Linked DNA regions of Homo sapiens: region 2 is linked to region 1. Evidence: promoter capture Hi-C in 16 types of primary human blood cells and fetal thymus (Javierre and others, 2016). All regions are on one chromosome and are shown on one strand. Each heading gives the region's core, a stretch centred on a gene start or on the middle of the fragment in contact. The rest is flanking DNA. Distances are from core to core; before and after follow the strand shown. Region 1 holds the start of OR6C68 (olfactory receptor family 6 subfamily C member 68). Region 2 overlaps OR6C74 (olfactory receptor family 6 subfamily C member 74).

Evidence for each region. The method cuts DNA at HindIII sites, captures the fragments that hold promoters and counts their contacts. A CHiCAGO score of 5 or more calls a contact.
Region 2: a contact is called between a fragment that was not itself captured here and the fragment with the promoter of OR6C68 in region 1, in 4 of 17 cell types (M0 macrophages, neutrophils, total CD4 T cells and 1 more). The highest score is 5.9, in M0 macrophages.

Annotation. Positions count from the first base shown.
Region 1 is chr12:55,487,627-55,494,883 of GRCh38, forward strand. OR6C68 (olfactory receptor family 6 subfamily C member 68) reads left to right here and starts at 4,752. Exons shown (of 1, transcript NM_001005519.2): 1 at 4,752-5,690. The coding sequence starts at 4,752. The coding sequence ends at 5,690. The HindIII fragment of the contact is 4,433 bases long and covers 4,099-7,257 here.
Region 2 is chr12:55,255,623-55,262,712 of GRCh38, forward strand. It overlaps OR6C74 (olfactory receptor family 6 subfamily C member 74), which reads left to right. Exons shown (of 2, transcript NM_001005490.2): 2 at 1-1,003. It also overlaps the pseudogene OR6C69P. Among named protein-coding and RNA genes, the nearest start is that of OR6C74, 15 kb to the left of the region's middle. The HindIII fragment of the contact is 4,681 bases long and covers 1-3,837 here.

The DNA.
Region 1 (7,257 bases), core at 3,502-6,001:
AAATACGGCAAAATGAATCCAGCAGCACATCAAAAAGCTTATCCACCATGATCAAGTGGGCTTCATCCCTGGGATGCAAGGCTGGTTCAATATATGCAAATCAATAAATGTAATCCAGCATATAAACAGAGCCAAAGACAAAAACCACATGATTATCTCAATAGATGCAGAAAAAGCCTTTGACAAAATTCAACAACCCTTCATGAGAAAAACTCTCAATAAATTAGATATTGATGGGACATATTTCAAAATAATAACAGCTATCTATGACAAACCCACGGCCAATATCATACTGAATGGGCAAAAACTGGAAGCATTCCCTTTGAAAACTGGCACAAGACAGGGATGCCCTCTCTCACCACTCCTATTCAACATAGTGTTGGAAGATCTGGCCAGGGCAATTAGGCAGGAGAAGGAAATAAAGGGTATTCGATTAGGAAAAGAGGAAGTCAAATTGTCCCTGTTTGCAGATGACATGATTGTATATCTAGAAAACCCCATTGTCTCAGCCCAAAATCTCCTTAAGCTGATAAGCAACTTCAGCAAAGTCTCAGGATACAAAATCAATGTACAAAAATCACAAGCATTCTTATACACCAACAACAAACAAACAGAGAGCCAAATCATGAGTGAACTCCCATTCACAATTGCTTCAAAGAGAATAAAATATCTAGGAATCCAACTTACAAGGGATGTGAAGGACCTCTTCAAGGAGAACTACAAACCACTGCTCAAGGAAATAAAAGAGGATACAAACAAATGGAAGAACATTCCATGCTCATGGGTAGGAAGAATCAATATCCTGAAAATGGCCATACTGCCCAAGGTAATTTACAGATTCAATGCCATCCCCATAAAGCTACCAATGACTTTCTTCACAGAATTGGAAAAAACTACTTTAAAGTTCATATGGAACCAAAAAAGAGCCCACATCACCAAGTCAATCCTAAGCCAAAAGAACAAAGCTGGAGGCATCACACTACCTGACTTCAAACTATACTACAAGGCTACAGTAACCAAAACAGCATGGTACTGGTACCAAAACAGAGATATAGATCAATGGAACAGAACAGAGCCCTCAGAAATAACGCCGCATATCTACAACTATCTGATCTTTGACAAACCTGAGAAAAACAAGCAATGGGGAAAGGATTCCCTATTTAATAAATGGTGCTGGGAAAACTGGCTAGCCATATGGAGAAAGCTGAAACCGGATCCCTTCCTTACACCTTATACAAAAATCAATTCAAGATGGATTAAAGATTTAAACGTTAGACCTAAAACCATAAAAACCCTGGAAGAAAACCTAGGCATTACCATTCAGGACATAGGCATGGGCAAGGACTTCATGTCCAAAACACCAAAAGCAATGGTAACAAAAGCCAAAATTGACAAATGGGATCTAATTAAACTAAAGAGCTTCTGCACAGCAAAAGAAACTACCATCAGAGTGAACAGGCAACCTACAAAATGGGAGAAAATTTTCGCAACCTACTCATCTGACAAAGGGCTAATATCCAGAATCTACAATGAACTCCAACAAATTTACAAGAACAAAACAAACAACCCCATCAAAAAGTGGGCGAAGGACATGAACAGACACTTCTCAAAGAAGACATTTATGCAGCCAAAAAACACACGAAAAAATGCTCATCACTGGCCATCAGAGAAATGCAAATCAAAACCACAATGAGATACCATCTCACACCAGTTAGAATGGCAGTCATTAAAAAGTCAGGAAACAACAGGTGCTGGAGAGGATGTGGAGAAATAGGAACACTTTTACACTGTTGGTGGGACTGTAAACTAGTTCAACCATTGTGGAAGTCAGTGTGGCGATTCCTCAGGGATCTAGAATTAGAAATACCATTTGAGCCAGCCATCCCATTACTGGGTATATACCCAAAGGACTATAAATCATGCTGCTATAAAGACACATGCACACGTATGTTTATTGTGGCATTATTCACAATAGCAAAGACTTGGAACCAACCCAAATGTCCAACAATGATAGACTGGATTAAGAAAATGTGGCACATATACACCATGGAATACTATGCAGCCATAAAAAATGATGAGTTCATGTCCTTTGTAGGGACATGGATGAAATTGGAAATCATCATTCTCAGTAAACTATCGCAAGAACAAAAAACCAAACACCGCATATTCTCACTCATAGGTGGGAATTGAACAGTGAGATCACATGGACACAGGAAGGGGAATATCACACTCTGGGGACTGCAGTGGGGTCGGGGGAGGGGGGAGGGATAGCATTGGGAGATATACGTAATGCTAGATGACGAGTTAGTGGGTGCAGCGCACCAGCATGGCACATGTATACATATGTAACTAACCTGCACAATGTGCACATGTACCCTAAAACTTAAAGTATAATAAAAAATAAAATAAAATAAAAAATAATAAATAAATAAATAAATATGCAAAGCAGTATTGAGTCAATATGAATATGATGATATTGTTAAATATTTAATATTTATGCAAGACTGGATTCAGGGAAAGCAAAATATCAAAAATGAAAGATAGTCTTAAGACCCAAACAAAGCTGAATCCAATACCAAGAGAACTACTGGATGGTAAATTGAAATAGTGAAAAAGAAGAAAACAGGACAGAGGTTCTAAGTGTGAGTTACAGAGTCATCTTCTGATTATAATGTTCTCTCAAAAGGGTATTAGCTTCCTAGCAAGCTTTATCTACCCTGAGCCTAGATTAAGATGCATGCCCTGTGATGGTGTTCCTCTACCATGGAGATTTTGCTCAGTATATTGGGTGTATACTAGCAGAAGACAGTGCTTACTTGATTAGACAAAAAAGGGAAAAACACTGATTGTTTAAAGCTCTTGTAGTAGATGCATTAGGGCTTTTTGAGGGAAATATTCTAAAACCATAAGAAAATGCCTTATTTTATATCTCTCTTGCATTTAATAAAGGTAAGAAAATTTGAAGCTCTTAAGACATTACTTACAAATTAGAAACCTGTGAATATCTAACAATATGATTGAGAATACACAACAGCAACTTCTACCTAGCTATTGAACTTAGCCCAGAATAACAGAGTCCCTAGTCTTCAGTCTTATTATTTCACTGAAAGAAATATTGAGGAAACATTGAGGGATCAATATACTAAAAGAAATAAACAATAAGATGGGGAAAATTAGCCAGTTGCACTTTGGCAAAGTTTAATCTCCATTAGCCCTAATATTACACCTGAATCAAGGAGTAAGTAATTGTATAGAGAATGGCACACATTTAGTTTTTGCTCTTGATAGCCCTGTTTACACCAGTTGTATCAACGTAATTATTAACTGCCCCCGCTGTGCTTCTCAAGTATCTTGGTTTAGATAATAAACTATGTAGTAACCCCAGCTTTGTTTCAATTACCAATAGACAGAATATTATCTTCATGAAATTAAAACATTCAGGTAAAGTGTTCACCACAAACACAGCGCAGTGATTAAAGAACTGGGACTCTGGGGTTTCTCTAGCCACTTACTATCCTGAAACAATGGCCACATACTTTACCTCTTTGTCGATCAGCTTTTTCATTTTTTAAGTGGAGATAATATACCTCCCTACTTCACAGGTTGTCCTAAGGATTATATTAATTATATATGTAATATACTTAAAAGAGAAGCATAGCAAGAGATTTGCCTGAAGCATAGCAAGAGATTTGTGTTTGTCATATTATGATTATACTGGGTTAAGTCACAGGAAGTTAACTGATTAAGCACTTTTAAAAATCTGGTGAGGTGAAAAATAAGAGAGTAACAGATTGAGAAACGAATGCGTACTGTGGAAATAGAGTCAAAGAATGTAGATCTGAAGGAAATGAAAAAGGAGAGAATATTGTGTCATGGCGAGGATATTCAGCAATTTTTGTCTTGACTTTTATCCATGTTGTATAACTTGTTCTAATCTGAGTAGCTAACTGAACGCAGGAAGACATAGTTTTTATATTTTTCAGCAGTTCATTTATTATAATCAAAACTGTCTTGCACTGTGATAAAAGGGCACTGAAAAATAATCATATTATACTACACAGCACTATCCAGGGAGTAGATATAAGATTTAGATAATGAAGCTTAGAAGAGATATGTAAAATTATAAACGTGGATGCCTTAGGGTCAAAAGATGGTTTTCTCTTAAAATGAATAACCAACAATTAAAAAGCAGTCAAAAAGCAAATAAATATACATCTTAGAGGGAATTGAAATGTTTTGTTTGGAACCTGATGTATGTTTTATTTTAGGGTTTTACAATTCCCAAATTTTAAAACAGAGATGAAACTAAAGCGAATTATTTTAATGTAGCTTATGAGTTGCAGAAAAACATTTGGCAGCATAAAAAACAGTCATATTTCAAAAAATAATGCAATCCAATAAAAAGGCACAACTCAGAATGAGTTAAAATGTTTAATACACTATAAATTAATTACTATAGAAGATTAATAAAGAAAAGTTATTCTATAGTTCGTTGACTAAAATTTATAAAATAATCTTATTTGGCCATTTTGTATAAATAGATCAAGGGAGCTCAACGTACTAAAACATGTACATATATGTTATTTATATTCTCACTATAAACTTCTGCAGATCAACAAGTAAAACCTATGATGTTGGATAAATGAAACATGCATGAGAGTGTTCATCATTAGCTGCTTTTTTTATTGAATGCTGCAGTTCAAATTTCTCTGACATTTACATGTAGTTTTGGAAAAATGCAGAAGTCAGTAATGAGAAAACACACAGCAATAACAACATTCATCCTTCTGGGACTGACAGAAGATCCTCAGCTGCAGGTTCTGCTTTTCATGTTTCTATTTATCACCTACATGTTGAGTGTAACAGGGAAACTGACCATTATCGCCCTCACCATGTTGGATCCCCACCTGAAAACACCCATGTATTTTTTTCTCCAAAATTTATCTTTCTTAGAAATCTCATTTACAGCTACCTGTGTTCCAAGATTCTTATACAGTATCTCAACTGGGAACAAAATAATAACGTATAATGCATGTGTCATTCAGCTATTTTTTGCAGACCTCTTTGGGGTAACTGAATTTTTTCTTTTGGCTACCATGTCATATGATCGCTATGTGGCCATCTGCAAACCCTTGCATTATATGGCAATCATGAGCAACAAAGTGTGCAAAACAATGGTTATTTGTTGTTGGATGGCAGCACTTATGATTATCCTCCCACCACTTAGCTTAGGTTTTCATCTAGAATTCTGTGACTCTAATGTCATCAATCATTTTGGCTGTGATGCATTGCCTATTCTGAAAATACCATGCTCAGACACATCATTAATTGAGCAGATGGTTGTAGCCTCTGCTGTATTAACCTTTATTATCACTCTTGTATGTGTAGTTCTGTCCTACACATATATCATAAGAACAATTCTAAAATTCCCTTCTGTTCAACAAAAGAAAAAAGCCTTTTCTACCTGTTCTTCACATATTACTGTGGTTTCCATCACTTATGGCAGCTGCATCTTCATCTATATCAAGCCATCTGCAAAAGAAGAGGTAAACATTAATAAAGGTGTGTCAGTGCTTATTTCATCCATATCACCTATGTTGAATTCTTTCATATATACTCTTAGGAATGAGCAAGTTAAACAAGCCTTTCATGACTCACTCAAAAAAATTGCATTTCGTTTAAAAAAGTAAAGTGTACCTAAGTTGATAAATCAATATAAAAGATCTGCTTCATATTTTTCATAAAGCCAATAACCAACTTTGTAATTTCTTAGTCTATAGAGCAATCAAGTTGACTGCATAGCCATTTAATCATTAATTTTTTATTAATTTACGTACTGAGAAATTAATTATTGAATAATATTCTATGATAGACAAAATATATCACTTTTAATCCTTAACCAGATTAAACCACTCTTTTTTCCTTCTTTCCAGTTGATTTTCTCTGATAATTTTAAAATATGGGTGTGAAGTTATTTTTTTCCCAACTTCTATGAGTAGTCATTCTTTTTTTTTTTTTTTTTTTCTCCCCTGGAGATAGATTCCCACTCTGTTGTCCAGGCTGGAGTGCGATGGTGCCATCTTGGCTCACTGCAACCTCCAACTTCCAGGTTCAAGCAATTCTCATGATTCAGCCTCCCAAGTAACTGGAACTAAGAGCATGCGCCACCACGCCCACCTAATTTTTGTATTTTTAGTATAGACAGGGTTGCACCATGTTGGCCAGGCTAATCTCAAACTCCTGGTCTCAAGTGATCCACCCACCTCGGCCTCCCAAAGGTGCTGGGATTACAGGCGTGAGCCACTGCACCTGGTCTATGAGAATTCACTCTTAATCAAGATACAAATTCCTTGCCTCACTGAAAAAAAGTCAGATTTAAGTAACAAACTTTAAAATATCTACAGCAAAAAGAGAAAATTTCATGAAAAATATTAAAGAGAAAACATAAGTAAAAGAATAGCTTTATGGTACAGTTAACATGAAAGGCTTAATATAATAAATATGTAGGAAGTTTCTATGAATCAAAAAAGGCAACAAATTTACTATAAATACCAAGAAAATATTAGATATTTATTTTACTAAAAAATAAAATTACCTATAGCAATAGGAAGGGATGCACAACTTCATTATTAGCCACAGATTTAAACATTAAAGTCATGATATACATTTCACCCATCATATTTGCACAAACTAAATTTTTCGTATGTTCAATATTAGCCAGTATGCTAACACTTAAAGTAAAACATACACCTCAATGCACAATTTACTTGAAAACATTGGAATTTATATTTACTAACAGTACATATAAGATTTCATCTAGAAATCAACATCTAGGGATTTATGCCAGAATCTACTTGCCAATTATTATACTCATTGCAGTCATTTTGTAATAGTAAAAGATTGAAAATAACCAAATGAACATCACTTGGCAATGTGTAAGTCAATTAGGGAATTACAGCATAAGATGTAGTACTTATCAAATGATATAGAACTTGATCTTATAATGGAAGGATATTAAAATTTTTAAAAACTGGCTGGGCGCGGTGGCTCACGCCTATAATCCCAGCACTTTGGGAGGCCGAGGCGGGCCGATCACGAGGTCAGGAGATCAAGACCATCCTGGCTAACACGGTGAAACCCCGTCTCTACTAAAAATACAAAAAATTAGCTGGGCGAGGTGGTGGGCACCTGTAGTCCCAGCTACTAGGGAGGCTGAGGCAGGAGAATGGCATGAACCCAGGAGGCAGAGCTTGCAGT
Region 2 (7,090 bases), core at 247-2,746, 240 kb before region 1:
AAAAACGATGAGTTCATATCCTTTGCAGGGACATGGATGATGCTGGAAACTATCATTCTCAGCAAACTAACACAAGAACAGAAAACCAAACACCGCATGTTCTCACTCATAAGTGGGAGTTGAACAATGACAGAGAAGAATTTTAAATGCATATTTCTCAATGAAACTAGGCAGACTTAAAAGGCTATAAATTATTTAATTTCATTTATATAATATTCTGGTAGAGATAAATTTATAGAGAAAGTAACATATCAGTGGTTGCCAGGACTTTGTTGGAGTAAGGATTAAACGAGGAAGCATAGGGAATCTTTGGTTAGGGTAGTAAAATTATTCTATATAGTAATGTAAAGATGAATACATAATGTAGGGAGACCCCCTGAAACTATTGCTATGGAATAAAAGGTGAAATGCTCCTGATTATTGTAAATACAAAATTGCATGCAGGATTGTGTAAAGACAATGCCAGGTTGGACTGCCAGAATGAGCCAACAGCACATGATGTGCTTCCCCCTGCAGAGAGCCTACGAACGGACATGCAGTCAGGGAGGTTTCACATCACCAAGATTCCTGTCCCAGAAAAGCAGATGTTCATAGCTCTGGGAATGGAATGGGACCCTTGTGTAGAGCCTATAAATGGACGCATTGGGGGGGCACCTGTTCATATGGATAAGATAGGGCTATAAACGCCCTCATCTTGCCACAGCTCTTCTAGGCCTCTTTGGGGGTAAGGCATACTCCCTTCTGATATTTTCCGGTCTAACCGGTTGTCTAGCTTCACCTCCTGTTTCTATGGATTGTTTGTAACCAGCTTTTGCTGCAACTGTTACTGCTGATTAATAACTTGCTAATCATAGGTTATGGAAAGACTGTGTTTCTGTTTTAAGGCTCTGTTAGAAATTACTGATGCACACACTATATTGTAAACTCTTATCTCTGTATACTGTACTTCTGCATACAGATGTTATGTTAAAGAACTACTTCATCCCCATGTGACCATCTCACCTCATAATCAAAAGACCCTAAATCCCTCACTAACCTGCCCCGCCCTCACTAAACTTAATAATAAATGCTGGTATATCCAGTGCATTAGTGGCATCGCGGGACTAGAAGGCGGTGACCCCCCTGGACCCAGCTTTCACTGTCTTGTGTGTGTCTATTATTTCTCGACCTGCCAATCTGCCTGGGAATAAAGAAAGAGCCCCTCATTGCATTGCGGACTGCTGGCCAGATCCTGCAATAACATAACACCGTGCAGTTGTCAAAACCAGTAGAACTTTACAATACAAAGAATGCTTCTAATGTGTGAAAATTAAAAAAAAATCTGGGATATCACAATAGAATGTGGAAGAATTTAGCTATATTACAAATGTGTGACACAACCTCACTGAAGGGCATAGTGTAAAAAGTTGCTGACCTAAGAGAAATAAGTGGAGTCAGTAAGACTAACGTCAAAAGGAACTATACATAACCAATACAGTGAAGTTAATAAAGTTTTCTCCCAATACACATACATACTGGAACTGAATGATTGAGCAAGTGGATGGCAGATGATGGAAGCCAGTATCTCACTGCTGCATTGGGAGATTACTGATAAGGAATGACTCGTGATGGCATTTTAAACATGGTGACGGTATAAACTAAAGTTTAATTTAATATATATACAGATTGATACTATAAAATATTTATCATTGTGTGTCTAGGCGTAGGTTAATATAAACACCTATATTTCCTTGCTCTGTCACCTGAGAGTGTCTAGAAGCAAAAACAGCCCAGTAGCAATAAGCACACCCAGTGCCCAGATCTTGGTTTTTAACACCATTTTCTCATAAGAAAAATAACTAGAATCAGGCTGCTGATAGAGTTTGGCTCTATGTTTCTAATGCAGATGCTATCATTGCATGGCATATTTGCAGCTCCTGTCAAAAGTTGACTTGCTTTTCTCATGCTGGGGTAGGCCATATTGCAAGGAATGTTGCCTCCTCCTGCTTTTGGCAACTTGACTACCTTGGGTCTATTGGTAGTGCCTCACCGGGTAGATGCTGTTTTAGGTTACTGATAAGTTGACTATGGCACACAACTGTGATCTTTGACATTATCTGTGTCATGTCTTTAGATCCTCAGAGCATCTACAGTTTGACAACTTTTATTGTCCAAGCTATTCAGCAAAGGACTAATAGCCTCTGCCTCCTCATCTCTTCCTGATCCATGCACCTAGGTAAAGCAGTATGGTCATTGAATGCAGCTGTTCCCAGACTTGACTACTCATCTTCTTCCAGGGTAATGATCAAGATAAAAGTGGTTGGGAATTATACAGACTTACTTTGAAAATTCAAAATTCCACCTCAGTCATTCAAAGAATGATGTACCTTTCTTTTCCCTAAGATCAAATCTAGATAAGGCTGGTGCCATACCTTCCAGGTGGTAATTTGGACACAAGGGGGCCTAAGAAATTAGAGTTTGATACTTGTTGAAATTTAAAAAAAATTTCGTTTTTCTTCATTTACCTGACTCTTCTAGATGAAAGATCTGAATATGAGTCGGCTATGATTGGGAGAAAAAAAAAGGTGAAGCTATAGCTACAGGAATGTAGAACCCAGATTTGAAGGAAGTATAGGTAGAGAAAAAGCTGGCATATGAGGAGAAAACACCTTGTATACTCAGGGGCCATGGAGAGAGGTATTAGTAATCTTTGCCTTTAAGAAGTATCCTGGGCCCTTTCCTCCAGAAGAAAACTTCCACTCTACGTCTGCCACAAGAGCCTTAATTTTGATGGACTGCTGCATCTTCCATCCTTTACCAGACAGAGATGGCTCTGTCAGGATAACAGAGACAATAAGGTACTATTACACCACCTGCATGTCACTTGATAGTGACAGGAGGTACTGTTACACCACCTGCATGTCACTTGATAGTGACAATAAGGTACTATTACACCATCTGCATGTAACTTGATAGTGACAGGAGGTAGTCAAATGCTTAGGCAGATAGGGGCACGTCCACAGTGAAACCTCACCTCCAAGCAGAAGACAGTTTAATGCCTGAAGGCCAAGCTACAAGTTAAATCCTTGAACTGAATTGAGAACCTATCTTCCCATTGGGCGCACTTTTCTTTGATTGATTCTCACCCTTCACCTATTTTACATAAACTTACACTTTCCGAATTGGTCTTCTACATTGTTGTGCCCACCTTTGAGAGGTGTCTTTCTTTTTTACTGACCAGAGTATTGTCTTCTAGTGGGAAAAAGTTAGGCAGCTTTGCAAGTAGTCTCTAAAAAGACTGGGAATTTAATATAGTTGGGGTCCCCCATTTGTGAATTGGGTGCATTGTGTGCACATTAGGGCCTCCTCTACATTGTCCTCCACCTTTAGGGGAAAAGAGATGCTGACAAGAACATGAAGGATGATTCCGGGAAATTGCACAAACTATCTATGTTTCCATCCTTTGGCCAGAATTTATCCACAAGGTTACCATAAATTGTACCAAAGGCAAAGACATGGAAACTTCTATTAATATGGAAGAAGTGGAAAATGGTTATCTATAATGAAATGTGTTTCAGACCACTAGACAATATCCCAAGGACTGCAGAAAGTATAACTTGCAGAAAAGAAAGTCAAATTTATATAGGACATAAAATGTTCAGTTGTACCTGATGAATTAATGATGTGCATTTAGCTTGAGGTGGATTTTGTCTATGACAGGCTACGTTCTCCATTTTATATTCCCACCTTTTAGTCTCGCATAAAATAATAGTTTTCTTTTTTATGTCTGTCAATGTTTAATGTAATATTTCAATTAAGGTAAAGAATGTTTATAAGCACTAAGTATACTTAGCTTCAAGCTTCAACCTTTTAAACAAGAAAAACAAGGCCCAGTACATTTTTTATTCTTTGTGGTTAATGCACAAAATATCCCCACTTCCCTTGAGAAAGAGTATCATATTTAAAAATACACTTTGATGAATATTGAATGTTAAAACATTATATGATACTATATAATGCTTCCAAATCCTCATCTATATATCTGGGATTTCAAAACATAGAGATGGGAGGACAAACACATATTGGGGCAATCTACACTGATTTCTCTTGAGACACTGTTTGTTTAATGTAGTTATTTTTAAGTAGGTATTTTGTTTTTAAAGTTATTTAGTGCCTTGAGAGAACATGTGAATAACATATGAAGTAGTCATCCTTTGGGAAATGGTGTTCTTGGATCTGATATTTTCCTGAGAATCCTTCATAATCTTTATTTTTCTTCAGGGCACAGAAAGCATAAAAACTCCAAGGGATCAAGAGTTGATTAATTTTATGTGGCACTGTGTGTAATACTACTTAGGAAAACATTCAATACATAAATAATTAACATACAGTTAAGAGGAATTTTAATGCACTAGTCTAACTGCAATAAAATAGCTAAACAAGGCATTTCCAAGATTGCTATTTATAGGTGAGAAATAATCATCATAGATTATGGGATAGAGAGATTCATTCAGAGAGAAATGTAGTATCAATATGCTTGATTCAGCATAATGATAAAAGAGTTAAATGTTAAAGCAGAGATGCTTTTGTCTAAATAAATCTGTCTATATCTTTAATAATTTTTTGCATGTTTCATATAAATGTTTTTATTTTAAAATTTTGAAGAAATATAACTCAAAAAGATAAAAATAATTAATGTTTCTAAAAGCTAAAGGAAATATTTCCTTTCAGACAAGTTGTGATTAAGGTTTGTTCTTATTTTACCATTAAAGTTTAATCTTTCCTTTTTTTAACCTTTAAATTGCATTCATAGGCCTGACTTCTCTTGGTTTTATACAGTGAGTTTCATGATTTTTACAGTGCTGTTGGGGAATAGTTGATATGTATGATGGTTGAAGTTGGTCAAAGGAATGGTCTAACATGACAAAACTCTGATTTAGGTGTTTTAGATATATGGATTCCTACAATGATGGCTTCTACGGCAATTTGTATAAACAAGAAAAATTTTGTGACAGATTGGTTCATAATTATATGAATGTGAAAGCAATGTCCAGGGAAAAATAACAGTCATTTCATTTCACTCACGTATGCCTGCATTATTAACACGCACGGTTTTAATAGCAGAATGCTACTCGTTGTTTCTAATGAAGTCATGCATGTGCCCTTCCCTTTGTTTCTGTTCAGGCTTTCCCTTTGCTAGGAATAACTCGTCTTATTTCCTTATCTCCCTCTAAGACCTATCTTAGAATCCAAATTACCTCCTGCAAACTTCTCTAGATATTATTGGAAACAGCTTTGACTTGTTTTCATATGTTTATTTTTACTCATGTGTCTGCCTTCTTAGTAATGTATGCTTCTGTGATTGGAAATAATTAAATTGATATTTTCACAACAGAAAACATAGTCCTATATAATGTCATGCACATCACAAAGACTTATTTCATGTGTTTGGTGATTAAAATGCCCAGGAAGAAAATTTTCCCTAGATATATCATTAATTGCTTTGTTTTAAGAAATGCACTATAGCTGGTATACAATTGCTTGTGTACCAGAAGACATTTTGGAAAATAAACTCAATCTTAATACTGGATCTCAAATTTGCTAGCTGTGTAAACCTGAACAATTTTGTTTCTTGATCTCACTGTCTCACTCATCACATATACCGGATGTAGAAAAGTGCTAACTATTATTATTATCTCTTTAATTCCATATTATCTGGATATTTGAATATCATTATATGCCTCCTAAAATTTTGTGTCAACACTCTTCAATGATTCATTATGCATTTGTAATTTACCAAATATTCCTTTTTCAAGGCCATGCTGAACTCAAAATTGTTCATGTTTTCAATCTCTATTTTACACAAAGAAGAAATGTGAGTATGTAGAACAAAAACACAGAGAAATTTCATTACTAAAAATTTCACCCTTATAATTTTTATTAACTTACCTATTTTAATCTTCTTTTAATTCTTTCCTCTATCTCGTTACCCTATCTCTAAAATCTTTCTTGTCTCTCTAGCTTTTCATACAGCTTTGTCTTTACTTCTTTCACAACATACAATTTCCTAAACCCATATTTATGTATTTCTCTCTGCTTCTGTTTTCCTATATCCCACTTTTCACTTTATCTGGTCCATTCTCAAGAGCGAAACCTCAGAGGAAAACTGCAGTGGCTTGCTAACATTATTAGACTGTTACTGCTGATTTGGTATTGAGGTTCAGTATGGGAAAGCTTGGGTAGGTACCAACGGAGATTAAGGTGATGGAAACACTAAAAAGAATAGTGAATGAAATCATTCCCTGTGCCTCATTTTCACTGATCTGAAACTGGATCTTATTAGAAATGAAAGTTAATGAGACAGTAATCAAGCATTTGAGTTTGATTAGTTGAGTAAAATGATAAAGGTATACTGGCACTGGTTATCAGTGATGGTTAGATTTGTGTGTGTTTGTGTGTGTGTATGTGTGTGTGCATGTTAAATGCAAAATATGGTCACATGTACTTCTAATGACAGGTATCATTTGGGGTTTTATATGCAAAATTTAAAAATTTTTCTTCAATTAAACTTCTTTGAGCAAAAAGTGGTGTGCCATCCAAATTCTTGCATATTATCAAGAAAGAAAAAGCATTTTCTATCCTTTAAGTTCTTTTAATTTCTCTGTAATTAATTCACATAAAATAAACGAGCAATTACTATCAGAATGTAGATTATTCTTGGGTAGCAAAGTTTTAGTTCTCTATCCAAATCCTCTGGAAACACAAACTATTATTCTTCCTGTCATAAGCTTCTTGAAAATATTAATGAACATCGTATTGCTGTATCTGAAACCTCACTTTGCTAACTTTAGCTTAAACACTGTGATCACTGTTATTTTTCTGTAAAGATAATTATTACTTTTTTCTATACAGAGCTGATAAAATTCAGAGGATAGTAATGAGAAACCATACCAGAATGACGGTGTTCATCCTAGCAGGTTTGACTGATAACCCAGAATTGAAAGTTGTGTTGTTTATCTTCCTGCTTCTCACCTATGTGCTGAGCATCACTGGCAATCTGATTATCATCACACTCACCCTGGTGGATATTCACCTTAAGACTCCCATGTAT